2 separate regions of the Homo sapiens genome follow, and region 1 is linked to region 2. The links are contacts of gene promoters, found by promoter capture Hi-C in human tissues and cell types (Jung and others, 2019). All regions are on one chromosome and are shown on one strand. The core of a region is centred on a gene start or on the middle of the fragment in contact, and the rest is flanking DNA. Distances in the headings are between cores, read along the strand shown.

What was found. Contacts are between HindIII fragments. The study calls those that stand out against the background at their distance.
Region 1: a fragment that was not itself captured here is called in contact with the fragment with the promoter of KNOP1 in region 2 in 2 of the 25 tissues and cell types used here (adrenal gland and dorsolateral prefrontal cortex).

Annotation. Positions count from the first base shown.
Region 1 is chr16:19,913,625-19,917,013 of GRCh38, forward strand. No RefSeq gene overlaps it. Among named protein-coding and RNA genes, the nearest start is that of GPRC5B, 30 kb to the left of the region's middle. The HindIII fragment of the contact is 7,764 bases long and covers 1-3,389 here.
Region 2 is chr16:19,716,655-19,719,761 of GRCh38, forward strand. KNOP1 (lysine rich nucleolar protein 1) reads right to left here and starts at 1,573. Exons shown (of 5, transcript NM_001012991.3): 1 at 1,504-1,573. IQCK (IQ motif containing K) reads left to right here and starts at 1,617. Exons shown (of 9, transcript NM_153208.3): 1 at 1,617-1,833. The coding sequence starts at 1,653. RefSeq lists an enhancer at 1,497-1,826. The HindIII fragment of the contact is 15,091 bases long and covers 1-3,107 here.

The sequences.
Region 1 (3,389 bases), core at 670-3,169, 200 kb after region 2:
TAAAAATAGGCTTAGAGGATCGATGGGGATGTAAAAGACGGTGGTTCCTGGAGTCTGAGTGTGAGCTTTATTCGAGTTCAGGGCGGTAAGCGTTTCTGCATCAGAGCCTGAGCTGATTGACTCCGAGAGCCTGAGCAAAGTAGAGAGCGTGTTTGAGGCTCTCGCCTGGCACCCGGGGGGTCTGTTTGCAATTTAGGGTGGCACTTTCCATTCTTAGGGTGGCACTTTCCATTCTGGGACCCTCCTTTCTAGTTTGCAGTTGAGGTTGGTAATCTGAAGACTGAATGTTTCCGTGGTTGCCTGGCACGGTGGGGAGGCCAAGAGAGGCTCTGGAAGAAATTCTGATGAGCCATCTGCTGTCCTCACCAAGAGCCACAATAGTAACACCTATCATTTTAAAAGATGTTTTATTTTGCATTATTATTATTTTACTTCTTATTTTTTTGTGATAGGGTCTTGCTATGTTGCCCAGGATGAACTCAAACTCCTGGGCTCCACCAAGCCTCCAGCTTCAGTCTTCTGAGCAGCTGGGACTACTGGCATGCCCCGTGACACTCAGCTATTGTTTTTTTGTTTTCTGTTTTGTTTTTTTTTTGTTTTGAGATGGAATCTTGCTCTTGCCCAGGCTGGAGTGCAGTGGCGAGATCTTGGTTCACTGCAACCTCTGCCTCCTGGGTTCAAGTGATTCTTGTGCCTCAGCCTCCTGAGTAGCTGGAATTACAGGCATGCATCACCATGCCTGGCTAATTTTTTTTTGTATTTTTAGTAGAGGTGGGGTTTCACCATGCAGGCTGGTCTCGAACTCCTGACCTCAAATGATCCGCCTGCCTCAGCCTCCCAAAGTGCTGGGATTACAGGCTTGAGCCACTGTGCCTGTCCCATACCCAACTTTTACGTTAAGCACTAACTATGACTAACTTTTAAGCACTAAGCCAGTGAATTTGCTCGAGCCTGGAGTTACAACCTTGACTCTTGACTAGGCCACAATCACGTAAGTCTTCATGGTCAATGTGTAGCGAATCAATAATACTGTGTGCTCAATATGTGTTAGGCGCTGTGCTAACCTCCTTATATGCATTATCTCATTTAATTCACATAAGAAATCTATTATTCAAATTCTTATTCAAATAAGAAATCATACAGGTATAATTCTTGTTTTACAGGTAAGGAAGTGGAGGCTCAGGTAAGTTAAAAGACTTACCTGAGGGCTCTCAGTTGTAAAAGGTGATGTTAGAATATGAACATGGGTCTGTTTGATGCCAAGGCTTCGCCCAGAGTGGAAGGCATGCAGCTGGGTTTGCTGATGTGCCTGCGAGCCTGGGTATTTCTCCTTCCCCTGGTTCCTCATCTTCTCCCATTGAATGTGCTCCAACCATGCTGGTCTCCTTTCAGTTCTGAGAACAGACCAACCTCCTTCTTTTTATTTCTTTAATTTATTTTTATTTTTGAATAAAATAAAAATTATTTTTAATTTTATTAAAATATAATTTTTTGAATATTTTAAATATTCAAATTCGAGATGGAATCTCGCTCGTTAAATATATATATATTTATTTATTATTTTATTTTATTTTGAGACGCAGTTTTGCTCTTCTTGCTCAGGATGGAGTGCAGTGGTGCAATCTCGGCTCACTGCAACCTCTGCCTCCCAGGTTCTAGTGATTCTCCTGCCTCAGCCTCCTGAGTAGCTGGGATTACAGGAGTGTGGCACCACACCCAGCTAAGTTTTTGTATTTTTAGTAGAGAGGGGGTTTCATCATGTTGGCCAGGCTGGTCTTGAACTCCTGACTTCAGGTGATCCACCTGCCTCGGCCTCACAAAGTGCAGAGATTACAGGCGTGAGCCACCGCGCCCGGCCCACTATATTTAAAATATTCAAAAATATTTTTAAATTTTATTTTTATTTTTGAATATTTTAAAATTTATTTTATTTTTTAATATTTTTATTTTTATTTTTGAAAAATTAGTCAGCCATGGTGGTATGTGCCTGTAGTCCCAGCTACTCAGGAGGCTGAGATGGGAGGATTACCTGAGCCCAGGAGGTCGAGGCTGCAGTGAGCCATGATTGCACCACTGCCCTCCAGCCTGGGCAACAGAGTATTTTTTAAATTTATTTTTATTTTTATTCACATACCACCGCGGCTGGCTATTATTTATTTATTTATTTTGGTATTTTTTGTAGAGACGGGATCTCTCTATGTTGCCCAGGCTGGTCTCAAACTCCTGGGCGTAAGCGATCCTTCTGCCTTGGCCTCCAAAAGTGCTGGGATTACAGGTGTGAACCGCTGTGCCCCGGCCCAACCTCCTTCTCTTGGATCCTTTGTATTTGCTATTCCCTCTGCCTGGAACCTGCTCCCCACAACACTTTCACTTAATTATCTCCCGTTTATTCTCCCAGTCCATAACAGGGGCTACGTATTACCTCTCAATCATAATTTCCCCTTTTTGGTAATAAAACCCTGGGCAACTCTTTAGAGCTCACATGCCCCAGCCTCTCTTCCAGCGTGCGATATTCACGTAACTAGTTTTGGGCCAATGAGATGGATGTGGAATATTTTGTGAAACTTATGGTCAGCTCCTTAAGTGGACTGGGGAGGCGTCCCTTATGTCTCTAATGTCCTTGTCCCATGTTGTTGTCTGTGAGGCAGATGTAGTGGCTGGAGCTCTGGCAACCATCTTGGACCATGAGACAACCTTGAGGATGAAAACCACATGCTAAGGGGTATGGAGCAGAAAGACAGAAGGAGGCTGGGGTCCTGATAACTGCTGGAACTCCCAAATCAGTCCTGGGCTGCCTACTTTCTGATTTCCTGTGGAACAAGCGAAAAAAGAAGCTCTGTTTCACTAAAGCTACTAAGTCCAGCCTCTGTTACTATCAACTAAATAAAATTCCTGACAAATACCAGGTCTTGGTTTAAATATAACTTTCTGGCTGGGTGTGGTGGCTCACACCTGTAATCCCAGTACTTTGGCAGACCAAGGAGGGTGGATCACTTGAGTCCAGGAGTTCAAGACCAGCCTGATAGACATGGCGAAACCCTGTCTCTACAAAAGACGCAAAAATTAGCCGGGCATGGTGGTGTGTGCCTGTGGTCCCAGCGACTTGAGAGGCTGAGGCAGGATTGCTTGAGCCTGGGAGGTCAATGCTGCAGTTAGCTGTGATCACACCACTGCCCTGGATCCTAGGCAATAGAATGAGACTCTGTATCAAATAAATAAATAAATAAATAAATAAATAAATAAATAAATAAATAAATGTATATAAATATCACTTTCTCTGAATGGCTTATGTGAAACTCAAAATAGATCTGTCTATTTGTTCTCTCTTTTAGCAACATGGTTCTTTTTTTTTAATTGCCCTGATTCCAATGAAAATAAATATATACTGC
Region 2 (3,107 bases), core at 323-2,822:
CAAGAAATACAGTAGCTCGCCACCTAATCCCAGGTTTCCGTTACCCCTGGTCAACCCTGGTCCCAAAATAGGTGAGCACAGTACAGGAAGTTATCTTGAGAGGGAGACCACATGCATGCAACTTTTATTACAGTATACTGTTGTAATTGTTCTATTTTATTACTAGCTAGATTGTTGGTAATCGTTTACTGCACCTAATTTTTTGTGAGACAAGGTCTGGCTCTGTTGCCCAGGCTGGAGTGCAGTGGCATCATCTCGGCTCACTGCAACCTCCACCTCCCGGGTTCAAGCAATTTTCACGCCTCAGCCTCCCGAGTAGCCGGGATTACAGGCACATACCACCACGCCCGGCTAATTTTTGTATTTTTAGTAGGGACGGGGTTTTACTATGTTGGCCAGGCTGGTCTCCAACTACTGGCCTCAGGTGATCCGCCCGCCTCATCCTCCCAAAGTGCTGGGATTACAGGCATGAGCCACCACGCCCGGCCCTACTGTGCCTAATTTATAAACTTTCTCATAGATAGTATACACAAGAAAAAACAGTTATATTTAGGGTTCGGTACTGTCTGTGGTTTCAGGCATCCACTGGGGGTTTAGGAACGTACTGCCCGCGGATAATGGGGGAGGGGGACTATTGTATTGGCATTTAAATAAGTGGGCAGAGATAAAGGAGCTTGCAAAGAAGAAGGTGCAAACCTTGAAATAGTGTAGTCAGGAGAGCCAAGACGACTTCAGAATAGGGGAGCAGTCAAGAGAGCCAAGACGACTTCAGAATAGGGGAGCAGTCAAGAGAGCCAAGACGACTTCAGAATAGGGGAGTGGCCAAGAGATCTGGTAAGAACAAAGAATCCACCGGGAGGTTGCGGGTCAACTCTTAATCCCCTTCTCTCCCCATCTCTTGCCATTTAGAAAAGTATAGCATCCTCCTCTTTAGCCCTGCGACCAAATGCATTCACTCTTTCAAGGAGAAAGGAAAAGAACGTTACAGTGCATCTCCTGCAAACGCAAACGCTTTCTCCAAAACCGCTTTTAAATTCCAGGGACAGCCTTGTGAAGATCTTTGTGAATACCCGACCTCGCAAGCTCCAGAGACTACAATAATTCACTTGCCCTAGGTTCCAAAGCCAGCAAGTGGAAAACGGAGACTGGAATTCCGCCCACAGGACTCCAAAGCCTGTGCAGCAACACCCCACTCCCCCGGCAGGATCACCAGCAGGACGCGCGGGAGCCAGGAAGTAAGATCCGTACCTCCAAGGCTCCCATGGGCCCAAGCCTCCGCATCAACAGACTGGGAGGGATTACGTGGGGTCCCAGGGCCGGCTCTGAGGCGGGAAAACTTTCTGGAGGCGGCGGCCTCAGGCCGGAGCGGGCGCACACCGACTGGAGGGGTCGGATTCAGGGATGTGGGTGGACCGCATTTCCCCATCTTCCCCGCCGCGCACTTCCTCTGGTGCAATCTCCACACCCCGCGCCGGCCCGCCTGCAACGCGCCCTGGCACTCACCGGTGGGCGAAATTTCCCCGCCTCCACGTGAGAGCCAGCTCCGCCGTGACCCGGAAGTCCACTTCGAGTCGCCGGCCCACCCTCTCGGGTTCCGGCTTCTTCCGGGTCGCGGCCTTCCGGCGAACGCGGTTACCGTGGAAACCGCGGCCATGGCGGCACCGCGGCAAATCCCCAGCCACATAGTGCGCCTCAAGCCCAGCTGCTCTACAGACTCGTCGTTCACCCGGACGCCGGTGCCCACCGTGTCTCTCGCGTCCCGCGAGCTGCCTGTCTCGTCGTGGCAGGTCACCGAGCCGTCAAGCAAGAATCTGTGGGAGCAGATCTGCAAGGGTAGGAAACCTGGGCTGGCCGAGAGGGGCGGGACCCGGGCGGCCGGACGGGGGCCGCGTTTGGGGAGCGCCCACTGTGCGCCTGTCGGCTGACGGGCGGGGCCGCCGGGCAGCGGCTCCGCGGGCCCGGGCTCCGCATTTTACGCATGGGGAAACTGAGGCTCGGAGAGGCTGGCCCGAGGTTACGCAGCGCGGACTCCAATCGCGATCCGTAGTGAGGTTAAAGGCAAGGGAACGGCGAGGGAAAGCTGAATAAAGAGAACCATGCGGTGTGGACCATTGGTTCTTAAACCTCGGTTAGTGAACCGAAAGGAATTGCTGGGGCGGGGGCCGGGGTGGGGATCTTGTTATAAACGGAGGTTCCCAGGCCCCGCCCACAGAGCTTCAAATTGGGATGCAGGGAATCTGCACTTTTTAAAAGAGCACCCCAGGTAATCCTAACGTAGGTAGTCGGTGGCCCACACGTTCAGTAACCATGGTGTGGACAAACGGGTTTTAGTCCCTTCTTGCTTCAAACCTTCCTTAACCTCCCCAGGCGGAGTTGAGCACATCTTCCTTTGTGGCTCTACTCAGTATTTGTTACTTAGGTTGGGCAAATTATTTAACTTATGACCCTGTCTGCAAAGTGGGCATAATAATGGCACCTATTTCGATGGTGTTAAGAAGATGGAACCAGATAGTCACAAAAAGTGCTTAGCAAACTGCCTGATTTTAGGAGGGCAAAAGGATTATTGGGGAAAAAAAAACACAAACTGCTCGATTTACAGAAGGAGCTACGTAAGCGCTAGTTCTTAATGAATAATGTTGGGTGGGATGTTTTCTTTTTCCTCCACTAGACCATAAGCTCCTCAAGGTCAAGGACTCAGATTTTTCATTCGTGTGGCCACCATCACTACCTAAGCTGCCTGAAACAGCGCGGTGAAACCCCGTCTCTACTGAAAATACAAAAAAAAAATTATCTGGGCGTGGTGGTGTGCGCCTATAATCTCAGCTACTTGGGAGGCTGAGGAAAGGGAATTGCTTGAACCAGGGAGGTGGCGTTGCAGTGAGCCGAGTTTGCGCCACTGCACTCCAGCCTGGGTGACAGAGCGAGACTCCATCCCCAAAAAAAAAAAAGTGTGGTTAGTTAGCATTTGAAATGTGATTAGTGCAATTGAGTAACTGAATTTCTTGTTGGACTCAAATTTTTTTTTTTTTTTTTTTTTTGAGACGGCATGTTGCTCTGTCGCCCAGGCTGGAATGCAGTGGCACTGGCTGGGCTCACTGCAACCTCCG